Linked DNA regions of Homo sapiens: regions 1 and 2 are each linked to region 3. Evidence: promoter capture Hi-C in human tissues and cell types (Jung and others, 2019). All regions are on one chromosome and are shown on one strand. Each heading gives the region's core, a stretch centred on a gene start or on the middle of the fragment in contact. The rest is flanking DNA. Distances are from core to core; before and after follow the strand shown.

Region 1 (4,351 bases), core at 131-2,630, 42 kb before region 3:
AAAAAAAAAAGGAAGGAAAAAGATACAGCATGCTACCTGTAATAAGCAAATACAATCAACCAACTGGATCTAAATAACATGTATAGAGAAACATGCCACTGCAAAACAACAGAATGTACATTTTTAAAGCATCCATGACACATTCATCAGGATAGCCTATATCCTGGGACATAAAACAAAATTCATTAACTCAAATGAGTGTTAATGACTACCTGGAAGTGAAAGAGTACTAGCCTAGATATAGCAGTATGGAGGCAGGAAAACATTCTGCACCCACTGTACTGTGGTTCAAGTGGATAAGGCAAGTGAATGGGAAGGGATTTCCTGAAAACCATAACGTGGTTGGGGAGTTGGCTTACATCGACAGCTCCAGAATGAAACTGGAAAGATGTGAGAGGAATGGGAGTTCGAACATGTAAACCCAGGACAGTGCAGTAGGTGGGGGATGAGGGTCTGGAAAGGATGGGGGTGAGTGGGTGGGTGAGAAGCCCAAGAAGTGGCTGACTTTAGATACCTTAACTGTAAGCCCAGGATTCTTTGGGGACAGGAATGACTCAAGGTCTCAGGCTGTTTCTGGCCTGATACTAAAAGAAGGGTGAGATGGTATGAAATTTACGGAGGGTTTCTGTGGTCAGTTATGGGATGACTGTTTCAGGGAGCTTGGGCCACCCAAAGAGCAAAGCTTCTGGGGAATAAGAGTCTGAGGTGTGTCCATGTAGCTGCTTCTTAAACATCCCTCCACACATAGGAAGTTCCCACAAAAGACACTTGCCGTGATTGTCCATTACATACCAAGGTGGAATCTTCCCAAAACAAAGACACTTATTTTTAATACAATCCCCATTAGAATTGTTCATGCTCAGGGAACAGTTATGAAACAAAATTGAGATATAGCATAAATTTTGGCAAAATAATGTTTTAAAAATTATTTTACCCATCAAAATTATTATATATATATAGTAATTATAGAAATGTATTTAAAAATGATCTCTATTTAGAGATGTTTACCATGTATATATTCAATTTGGAGGTTTCAGATCAATCATATGCTCTTTAAAATTAAGTGACCATAAAACTAACTTTATGGCACCCTGGGCATAATGGGTACAGAACTTCCGATAACACTGATTAACAGTCTACAGAAATTTATAGACAAACTTTTCGGACAAGCCAGTACTGCCGAGGCTTGAGAGTTCTAAAGTTGCTATGAAATCTTCCTTAAACAATTGACAGCAGCTGCAAAGCATTTTCTTTAGCTTTATGCAGAGTATTCACGATTGCTGACAAGGCTCCTATTTGGCTTTTTTATCCCTTTAACCGCCTAGAATTACTGAAACTGAACTTGTGAGTTCTAACACTAAAAGCCTCTTTATTTTCTTGATCTTATAATGTAATATTCTTTCCTCCCAAGAAAGATGAGCTAAGCAGTGGCTTTCTTTTATAATTACGTTTTCAAAGCAAACATTTTAAAAGTAGATGTTGCATGGGAAACAAGCCTCCTGACTATTTTCCTAAATAGCTTAGGACTTCCTACAGAGCCTGCATTTTCAGTCTCAAGGATGATGGCCCTCCCAATGATTCTCTCTTCCCTTTAAACACACAGTCCTCCTGAGCTGAGGTGCCTGGGCAGCAAGAACTCGGGGATCCCTCAGACCTCAGTTCAGTTCCTGCCCCATCTCCCAAACTGCCAAGAGGATTTGCACATGGACAGGCAAAAAAGTCAACTCTCTTTCCCTCCTTAAATCTGCCAGCAGTTTGGACCTTTTTTATAAACATATGGTATGTTTTTCCCAAAGGCAAATCTAAAGTCATCACTATTTTTCTTACTTTCTTGCTTGAATTCGGGTATCTAGAGCAATTATGAAGTTGTGTGTGTGTGTGTGTGTGTGTGTGTGGTGTGTGTGTGTGTCTGTGTCTGTGTGCATGTATAGCATAACACACTTTATAGGTTAACTTCCAAGAGAGAAAAGTAACCATCAAATTATCAAATATATACACACATGTGTATATGTATACATACATAATCATATTATATATATACATATAGTAAACATTTTCTTTTCATCAGTGGAATAATCCTTTGAAAGACGACACTTTGCTGCCCCAGCAGAAGGAATGCATAGTGCTGGAAACATGGTATAACCTCAACGAATAATCTCTAATATTTATTTTTTGTGGAAGCTATAAATCTGTTGGTAGAAACTGCCCCTGTATGGCCAAGGAGTTTTTTCTTATTTAAAATGCTTAAACTTGTGTTCTCTACTGGTTTGATTATAGAAGATCACCATTTAGGATAAAAAGAGTCGCACCCATGGTATTCTTCCATTCCTACCCTCTGATATAGACACCCATTTTGTTTCAGTAATGTATTAATTACAAATGTAGTCTTCCTCTGGCCATAGTCAAATCTCACTAATCTAATCTTAATTTATCAAAATATGAGTTTTTTTAAAAAAAGAAAAAGTTTAGAGAACACGAAGTTCCACTGTGATATTCCGATGTGATTCATGGGTGTGTAGAATGAGAAAGAATTCTAAATGCATTCTTAAAAGATAAGCCCTTGTGAAGATTTGTGGGCCTTGAGGAAAAAAGATGAAGCCCTTTCAGAGAGTCTTCTAAAATTATGCTTAGTGGATTTACTAAATCCTTAAAATTATGACATTGAGTTACCACAAATTATTTTGGAATAAAAATTGATATAAATAAATATTACTATACTGTGACATTTTAAGCTTAAAACCTTTTTCTCACATGAACATGACGAAAAGCAGAAACTTGACAAGCCAAAATTATCTGCCATCATTGCTAATGCTGTATAAGAGCAAAGCTAGTGATTTTGCCAATTTATCATTCGCTATGAAATAGCTGGATTTTCTTCCACTAAATGATGTCCTTTCTGGTTAGAAACTGAAAAGTATTCTATCATGTCCCTGCTATATTTTGAACTTTGCCATACTAAGTAAACTTGAGCTCCCTAATACCTGTAAAATCCCTTTTTTTCTGACCCAATTTTCCTCCTCATTTCCAAGTAGGAATAAAGTCAAATCTTACAGGCTTAGATGAAGTTCGATAATTGCCAAATTCTCTGTGTGTTGTTTTGTAGAAAAAGAGCCACTCCCTATGGCAAACAGTGAGCAACTCAATCTACCTGTAAACAACTTCACGCATCATGCAGAAGACAGGGATTTTAGATGAAATGACCATCCAGGCCTATGTGTGGGACGCATATACTGGATTTAATAGGCTCCAGTATTCAGTCAGCTCCCTAGCACAATAAGCACTTGATAAATATTTCTTGATTATATCAGCTGCTACTAATTACAGGCTGTTTGAGAGCTTGGGCATTATCTTTTTTTGATTATTGCTATATCCTTGTTACCTGAAATAGTGCCTGGCACATAGCAGGTGATCAGTAAAGATTTATTGGTTGATGAACTATTTGGCGAATGTATAAACTGCTGGCCATGCAGAATCATGGAGTGATTGATTTGAGAATGTCAGCTCACTGTGCAGGTGTCAGGGTGCAAGTTGCAGCCCAGCCACATAACAGGTATGTGACCTGGGACCAAAGGCTACCGATGAACCCAAGTTTTCATACAGATAAAATGGGAATAATGTTTCTACCTATCTCCTAAAGTTACGGCGAGAATTAATGAAATAGATGGGAAGGAGAGGATGGCTCCCTGAGGCTTGGTGAAGCAGGAGCCCTCCGTGGCAGTGCGTCGGTGTCGAGGCTCCGGCCTGACCTCTCCAGGGGGTCGACAGGATGGTCTCCAGATGCCAGGAGTCCTGAAGGGCCGACCCTGATGAAGAAACCTCAGGTGGAGTCCTGGGGAAGCAGCCTGGGATCCCAGCCTCAGGCCTGCCCTGATGGTGTTCAGGATCAGGGTGACCACACCACACCCAAGGACAAAAGCCTCACAGGAGCTCATTGTCCTCCTGCAGGAGGGGTGCAGACTGACGTCAAAGAAGATGGTTCTAACTCCTCCCACCTTCTGCTCTCATCGAGACATGTAGCCACACCATGACACAGGCTTGGAGAAGAAGCCAGGAACAGGACTTGGCAAGGATCTCTGTCACTCCAATGCTGGCCTTGCTGGTCAAGTCACCCGCTGGGCCCTCCTACCCAGACGCCTGTGGCGGTGGCATTGTGCTGTATCCTCCCTGGGCTCTGGCCTCTGCTGTGTCCTCTATCTTTCTCTGTCTGCCATGTTTCTGAGGGCCCTAGAGCCTTCTTGGTCTGGCGCAATGTCTTCGACAAAGAACACTTTTGAATCCATCAGGGAGAAACTTTGTGGGGAAAAAAAATCCCATATCCATGGAAGGATACTGCAGTGTCCAGTGCATAGCA
Region 2 (4,274 bases), core at 451-2,950, 37 kb after region 3:
TGGAGTGCAGTGGCACGATCTCAGCTCACTGCAACCTCCACCTCCCAGGTTCAAGCAATTCTCTTACCTCAGTCTCCCAAGTAGCTGGGATTACAGGTGCACACCACCACACCAGCTAGTTTTTGTATTTTTAGTAGAGATGACGTTTTGCCATGTTGGCCAGGCTGGTCTTGAACTCCTGACCTCAAGTGATCCTCCTGCCTCGGCCTCCCAAAGTGCTGGGATTACAGGCGTGAGCCACCACGTTTGGCCGTCTCTGCTAACTTTAGAAAATCCTTTATTAGTGAAGACAGTTGTACATGCCTCTTTCTTGTCATTGTAAAGAGCTCTATTGTAAGACAAACAGTGTCCTAGGTAGATAAGCTTGAAAAGTCATTTGAGAGGAGGTTTCTGAGAGTCTTGAGTGTCAGATTCAAAAATTTGGAACTTGTGCAGAGAGGCACCATTACATGAGTGATAGCATCTCCCTTAATCTAAACATTTAATGTGTTTACTTTAAGGTTATGTAATGCAACCAGACTAGTGTAATGACTTATTATAAGAGGCATATAGTTTTTGAAGATTATCAACATGGAATGATATTTGATTACTTAGTGCATCCATTACATTAATGTAGTGAACTCCACTGTTCATCAACAACGTTGTCATAGACTTGGCTTTGCCGTAGCTATTGAAATTACATGAATATTTCATCACAGTCAAGGTAGTGCTGTGATAAATATTAAAAGAGGACAATGCTAAAAAATTACATCTGAAAGGATTATGTGGTTGAGAACACACCAAGAAAGGACACGAAGGTGGACATCCTCCACTTCTGATCTTTCTTTCTTGTCACTCCTCGGGGGCAGTTTGGAGGGCGGTGGCCAGGAAGGCCTGCGTTGTCACAGAGAATGTGCTAAGGGGATGACTTACTTGCTAATATTTGAGTAGTTCCTTTTGTCAAATAAAAAATGAATTCAGACTCAGGTAAGGAGAATCTTCATCTGAAAAGACTATTGTGGTAGAGGTAAGGGTATCATGTGACCATGATACCTGCGAGGGCCTCCCAGGTCTGTAAGAAAGGGCTTTTCTGTTATACGGAGGATTGCAGGAGTGAACAAGGCCGTGAGGGTGGGCAGAGCAGGAAGAAGGATGGGACAGTGAATCCGCATATCCGGAGGGTTTTCCCTGAGGTCTGTGGATCCTTAGGAGGCCCTTTAGGAGGGCTGTCCTGTTATTTGCTCAAGGGGGAGTCAAGGTCCTGATTAAAGTTTGGTCAAGTTGTTAGTGGGTATTTTGTCCAGGTTGGTCAATGGAAACAAACAGTTTGGCTAATAATTTATGAGATAAAGATTGAGTACATGGAAGGCCTGTGTCTGGCCTTGGAGGTAAATACGGTGTGCATCTGTGAGTCCCATCTAAGTCACACAGGGAAGACAAGTTCTTTGCAGTCAGCAGTTTCCTGGAAGACAAAAGGGTTTCAGGGGCTGGGGTGGGAGAAGATGTTAACTGTTGCTGTTTTCCAGGAGCATAAAGCCCAGGTCAAGTTCAACATTGCCCCTTTATACCAAAGGTCTGTTTCTGGGATTTCATGAGTCAATCAGCCAGTTCAAGTCCACAGTTCTTGAAGGCCTACATCGTGCTGGGCACTGAGTTAGGTACCAAAATAATAAACACACCAGGACCTTTATCCTGTAGGTCTGAATCTAGAGAGCAGCTTGAACCTGAGAAAACCCTGGGAGGCAGTCTTAGATGGGCCCAGAGACTGTTTGAGAGAACCTGAGGATCAGGATATTTGAATTCTGCACAGACTGGCTTGCTCCTTCTTCTCCATAGCGCCTCTTCCTCTTGTCGGTGACCTAACTGCAGATGGAGAGAAGGAGCCCACATTTTCAGTTCAGTCCTGTGGCATTATGCATTTCTCAATAGACAGTAGAACACCAGGTGTCACTTGCATTATTTTCAGAAAGTTATATAGGTTTGTTTCTGTGCCTAATCTGGCAATTGTTGACTTACGACTAAGTGTGTAAGTCTTCTTTACAACCCTGGTGAGCCTCTGACTAGTATGCAATGTTTATGTGGTTTCGATAGCTGCTCCAAGGCCAATCTGTGTTAACTTTGTTGATGTACAGAAGACTCATCAGTCAGTGTAAAATTTGGAGACTTGACTCTCAGTAGTTCCATGTAAATAAATGATGGAGTTGGAGTACATATTTTGGTCATGACACTTAGATTCTGATGTTGTAGGCCTCTTTAATTAAAGCGTTGAAGGGTTGTTCTCAGAATGACTGGACCAGGCCTTTACTTAAATGGGTGGATCAGAATATCTCAAATAACTGTTTTTATTTTAAACTCAAATGACCTTCCTGATACCAAACAAAAAACCTCAGTTGGTATTCAGAACTTGAAAAGTCACCGTTATCTTTACAAATATCCGAATATCTGATCCTGTAGATACAAAATACCTAGAGGATTACTTAAATTAGAAATACATACATAAATATGAGTATCTGGTTATTTTGTATTCATAGGAATTCATCAGAAACCTAGAAACTCCATCTTTAAAGTTTAATCATTCTAAAAAGTCTTAAAATCCTTTCAGCTGTGAAGTTCTTTATTAATATAAAGGACTATGAAACTTCATTCACGGCTCCCCTACCATTTTCCCTCTTAAGTCAGAACCTCAGAGGATTCAAGGGGACTCATGAAGTGGCCTGCAGAAGATCGTTTCTTTGAGATCTTGTGTTTTATCTTAAAAGAGACACATTGTTATTTGACTTTATAATCTATCCATGGTTGTTTACATCTAAAAGTAATATTTAAGTTGCTTCTCATCAAGAATAATTTAACCTACAAGGAGCCTCCTGGAAGGAGCCAGGTTTCTACTGTGCACGCTTTCGGTGCAGACTGGTGCCTGGCTACGGATTCCCCGAGGGTGTGACGGTGTCAGTTCAAGAAGCCTTGTCGACTTCAATTAAGTGGGGATTGGATGTCATGTGAGCACAGGAGAGAGGAAGTTGGGGGTGGCAGGAGAAGAACTGGATCAAGACTCTTGAGTTAAAGTCCCTACAGGGTCCCAGGCAGGGCGGGCCCTGAAGGTGGTATAGAGAATGGCCACGGCATCACAGATTTGGAGGGCCCTGGCCACTGGGTGGTGCATGCTTCTCCAGAAGGGGCAGCCTATTGTTGCCACGTGCCACGTGAGCCTAGTTTTGCCAGATGGTATAATTTTTTAAAAAGAAATTGGAAATCTAGGTTTTTATGAAAAGTCTTACATTGGTTCAGGACTTGGTTAGGAAAACAGAAGCCACTGTAGATAATCCATGTATAGAGGGTTTAAATAGAGGAGATTGCAGGCTATACCACTGTTGAAAGGGATGGGAAACGAAGGCCAGGGAAGTTCTCACAGACCCCAGAGATCTCCATCTGGGGGACCCAGGTGCGGCCAGAGTCCTGGGCTGGCGTCAGAGCCCTCTGACACTCCCAGGCTGGCTGTGGCAGCTGGCAGCCCCAGTGCTCCTGCTCCTGGGCCTGAAGAAGCATCTGTAGGCACTGAGGCAGGCACCTCCCTAGTGCTTGGGGAGGCTCCCTGTCTGTCCTCTGCCCTGTCTGCCCGGACGTCCATTTGCAGCTGCACTGAAGTATCTCAGCTTCTCCTCCGTTCCGAAGCCCTGCAGTGGCTCTCATGGTGGACTCTGACGCAGACCACATGGAGGGGAGCTTGCGGGGCACAGCATCCTGGCCTCACCTCGTGTGTGGAGCAGACCTCAGGAGAGGGTGGCAGTGACCCAGTGGACCACAGACAATCCAGCCTGATCCTATACTTCAAGTTTAAAACACTGTGCTGGTCAATACTGTGTGTTCCAAAGGAAACGCACACGTGGGCCAGAGCTGCCTGCCATCAGCTTGACGGAGGCAAGGCAGGAAGCACAAGACCCGGGGCGGGCGGGCCGGGGCGGGGAGGGGCGGAAAGGATGACGAGGCATCGCATCAGAGGCCACTGACTTGCTAGCCTGGCCTGGGGCTGCTCACCGGCTCCACCTGCTCCCCTGCCCACCACCGTCCACCTCTGAAGGAACCGTTATGTGGCAGCTCCCACTCCCCCGCTCTGCTGTGTCTTTGTTGTTTGAGGAAAGGCCCAGACACTTACCTCAGGTAAACAGGTGGACTGAGGTCACATGGGGACCCACGGGACTTGTGAGGAGTTAAGGCCGCAGCGCCCATGCTGAAGCCCTGTCAGCCAGAATGCGGGGGAGGCCCAACTCCCAGGGTGGGATGATCTTTCTACTGTCTTC
Region 3 (3,825 bases), core at 575-3,074:
ACTGAGCGTTTTTCAAAAGCTCCCCAGGTGACTGCAACATGTAGCCAGCATGGAGAAGCCTATTTCAGATGTAGTCTAGACCGCTGAAACTTCCCCTTGAGTACATACGTTGGAAGTCTCAGAACTGGGATGTAGTTGTTAAAATCTCTAACGCCCCAGCAGCCAAGTTGGTACACACTGTGGCAGAGAAAGCTCGAAGTTTATTTGGTAAGACCACCCACCTGCTGGGAATCTTGTGCCTCCCAGCTTATGTTATTTTGAAAGAGAATTATTGTGAAAAAGTCTAGACAGTTGTTAGTATGGGAAGCCTATCAAGAACATAAGAAAGTATTCAGAGAATACAGAATTCATGTGATGACACAGTATTATTTAAAATTCAGGAGTCCTTCACCTATTAGCTCCCAAGAATGAGTCGTACATGGGGTGAGGTGGGGAGGGCATGGATGTGAAGGCAGACTTATGAACATCAAAATTAGTGGTAGATTTATATCAGGCTTCTACAAACAGGCTACACAAACCATTTCTTGATAGCATTTCTTGGTGACTGGATGCTAATTTAAGTTCTATCGTCTCCTGTAGGTCTGCTGTTGAGCTCATGACTACGCCCGGGTTTAGGTGCTATCTAAGCTTCTTGAGGATGGCAGAGCACATGGGTGGTTTAAGTTTCAGGGTGTCTTCACCATATGCCAACTGTCTTGAGTCTTCATTCAAAAAGCAATGGTTCATAGTTTTTCTGTAATTCTCAGAGAATTCGTGAAGGCACCTGAGCTCAAACCACAAGCTTACCCTGTCTCAAAAAAGGGATGTCCACAAAAGCGTTTCAAATGGCTAAAAAGACGGGGGTTTGCCTGTTTTTCATCAGCTCACTGCTCTATCCCCTCCAACTAATGCAAGCCAGGAATGTAGGTGCGGAAGGGAAGCCAGGTCCTTCCCAGTGTGTCCTCCTGATGGAATGCCAGTCCTGAACAGTCCTCTCTACAGATGCTAACAGCCTCTTCCTCCATGTCCGGAAAGACCCCTACTGTGCTCTAGCAAATCTCCTCCACTCTCGGATAACAGTTAAATAAAAGACCCAGGCACACTGCAGTCTCCCAGCTAGAGCCAGATTTCTCTAGATCTTGCCTAGAACAGGCAAAAAGCAGTGCACTAGGAGAAAGGGAGAATATTCTCAGTGCCAACGCTCTCTTTCCCCAGAGCCACGACAAGCAAGGAGCAAAACTGAGGTGAAAACGGAGAGTTCCCCCAAATGCACAAAGTGGGTGCATTATCTGTTGGGGAAGACCCGGGATTTCCCAGAGTCTATTCAGAATGGCAAGTTCTTGCTATGTGAAATATGGGCAGGGTCAACGGTGTAGATGAATTCAGCTCTATTCTTCTTAATGCCAGTGTGCACCTGTGGACCCAGCAGAAGTCGGGGTCGCACAGGACTCTCCAAGCCCCTGGCTTCTCTCCTGCCGGGCCTGTGCGTTTCCCTCGGACCTTAAACGGTTCCCTGGGTTTGGGCAAGCTCAGGGCCCGGCCGGGTGGACTGGATGCCAGGGTGCACCACCGGAATGACAGAACCACGCAGAGCCGCGGGGCTGCGGGAGCCAGTGGGGCAGGAGTGCCCGCGGAGGGCGAGCCAAGGCGCGCAGCCCACTGGCAGGCCAGGCCGGGTCTCTCCCAGGCGCGGGAGCCGCGGGTGGGGGCTTGCCCTCCGCGCCGGTGCAAGGCTCTCACTTCCCCAGCCGCTCAGGGGCGGGCTCCGCGCGCGCAGGCCCCGGAGCCGCCATCCCATTGGCCGGGGGACACGCCCGTCCCCGAGTGAGGGCTTCGAAAGTTTCATTGAAGGTGGAGAAGCGCGCGCCGCCGGGGAGCCCCGGCTGCGCCGCGAGGGCGAGGCTGCAAGGCGGCAGGCGGTGGTCGCGCTGGGCGACGGGACGGCGCTGGTTTTTCTCTTGAGTTTTAAATTGAGGCGGTGGAGGAGGGAGTGGGAGACCCACTCACCCGATATGCGCTCTGGTCTCCATTTCTCCCCACGCTCGCGCCGTTCCTTCGAGTGAGGGAGGGACTCGCAGCGCCGCCCGCGCACCGGACCCACAAGGCGAGCCCCGTGGTGGCGGGGATGGTTCTGCGCGCCTGGCAGCTCCCACCCCGGTCTCTCCGGCCCGAAGCTGGGGGGCGCAGGGGCTGAGCTGCGCTGCCTCTCGGGGATCCGCCGCGGGCCGCCTGGGGGCTGGAGGGCGAGACCCGGAGCCCGCCGGGCAGCTCCGAGAGCCGGGGCCGAGGCCAGAGCGCGGCAGCCTGCGTGGGCAGCGGAGACGAGGCCGGGCAAAGGAGACGCGGTGGCTTCAGAGGGGCTTCCAAGTAGAAAACTCCCCGGCCGCCCCCAAACGACGCCCCGGGAGCCAGGCGGGAGCACAGCACGCCCTTCTTGCCCCCTTTGCTCGCCGCGCCGCCTCCCAGGACCCTCCCAAAGCGTCCCTCTCCAAGGCCCCGGCATCAGCTACCCCTGAAGAAGCCGCCGCCGCTGCCGGATCCAGGATTCACACTAAATGGGCCGGCCGCAGGGGGCCGGGCGCCGGGCTAGGTGGCCGCCAAGAGCCTGGTGAGGGGCTACCCAGAGCCCGGTGGGCGAGGGGCGGCCAAGAGCCCCGGGAGCGTGCCCTCGGGGCGGAGAGCGTCGCGGCCCGCGCCGAGGCGATGCTCGGGTGGCTGCGAGCTGCCGGCGGCGAGAGGCCATAGACGGGCATGGGCCTTGCGTCCCACCACCCCTAGGGACCCTCGAGCCTCGCCCCTCTGCTCCGACTCGCCGGACCGACGCGATGGCCTCAGAAGTGGTGTGCGGGCTCATCTTCAGGCTGCTGCTGCCCATCTGCCTGGCAGTAGGTGAGTCTGGTCCGCTTTCCGAGGGCACTTGAGGAGGACGAGGGGGGCGCCTGGGTGGGGGACTTCTTAACAAAGTGAAGGGCTCTGGTGCTCTGGGGTTCGATTCGGGAGGCCAGCGGCGTCAGACGCGCGCTGTCCCTGGTGCACAGCCTGGCTCTCTCACTTCCCACTCTGGGGCGCGCGATCGGGGTATCTCTTAACAGGATGCTCGGGACGGGCATGTGCTGGAAACTGTTTATGTTGAATTTAGTTACACGTGGATTTTCTTTCGTGGAGTACTGACTTGTGTACTAAGGATGGCCATTGCTGTGGCTGGAAGGCGGATGCGTCCCCATCGTAGGTACAGTCAGGCTCCTACCTGAGCCCCTCGCCCCAGTGACCCTGCAAGCACAGCATGCTGTGCCTCCAGACGGCCCAGAGGCCATCTCTCCCAGACCCCAAATCCCAGCAACCGTGAAGGAAGAAGTGAAGGACTCCGGTCATTCAAAAAAGAAAAAGAGGGACGAGGTACAGGGAGACAGTGCCTTGACGTTTCTTACTTATTTTTTAAAACCTCCACAAAAGCCCCTACTACAAAAGTACTGGATGCTAAGGCTATAGACCCCCAACACCTAGTCCCGCCTCCCAGCGGCCGCCCTCTCCAGATTTTAAAGGGTTAGAAAGCAGGGTTGGAACTCCTTGGGACTGGCAAGGGCCCAGGGAGGACCGCAAGGGAGCCTCCTCGACGCCCAGACAAGCGTTGCACCGTTTCCCCAGGACTGGCCTGGCGTGCAAAGCAACTGGGTGCTGCGTTCTGGGAGTCGGACCGTTTCTGATCTTCTCCTCAAACAGGCAGTGCCTGTGACATTGAATTCCTCTCGTAAGAATGCCGGGCCCTGGTTCTTTGCTCTCCCTCTCACCAACAAGAGCTAGGAAGTAGAGCGCTTTTCACCAAGTAGTAACTGTATTTACAGAGGG

Evidence for each region. Contacts are between HindIII fragments. The study calls those that stand out against the background at their distance.
Region 1: a fragment that was not itself captured here is called in contact with the fragment with the promoter of PIEZO2 in region 3 in 3 of the 25 tissues and cell types used here (dorsolateral prefrontal cortex, ovary and spleen).
Region 2: a fragment that was not itself captured here is called in contact with the fragment with the promoter of PIEZO2 in region 3 in 3 of the 25 tissues and cell types used here (IMR-90 fibroblasts, hippocampus and lymphoblastoid cells).

What each region holds. Positions count from the first base shown.
Region 1 is chr18:11,188,569-11,192,919 of GRCh38, reverse strand. No RefSeq gene overlaps it. Among named protein-coding and RNA genes, the nearest start is that of PIEZO2, 41 kb to the right of the region's middle. The HindIII fragment of the contact is 4,777 bases long and covers 1-3,768 here.
Region 2 is chr18:11,110,362-11,114,635 of GRCh38, reverse strand. The region is part of intron 1 of PIEZO2 (piezo type mechanosensitive ion channel component 2); the gene reads left to right. Among named protein-coding and RNA genes, the nearest start is that of PIEZO2, 37 kb to the left of the region's middle. The HindIII fragment of the contact is 4,299 bases long and covers 1-3,849 here.
Region 3 is chr18:11,147,568-11,151,392 of GRCh38, reverse strand. PIEZO2 (piezo type mechanosensitive ion channel component 2) reads left to right here and starts at 1,824. Exons shown (of 56, transcript NM_001378183.1): 1 at 1,824-2,868. The coding sequence starts at 2,805. LOC124904249 (a long non-coding RNA gene) reads left to right here and starts at 2,877. Exons shown (of 2, transcript XR_007066288.1): 1 at 2,877-3,825. RefSeq lists silencers at 1,472-1,921, 2,162-2,441, 2,462-2,641, 2,652-2,721 and enhancers at 2,415-3,253, 3,282-3,331. The HindIII fragment of the contact is 6,242 bases long and covers 1-3,825 here.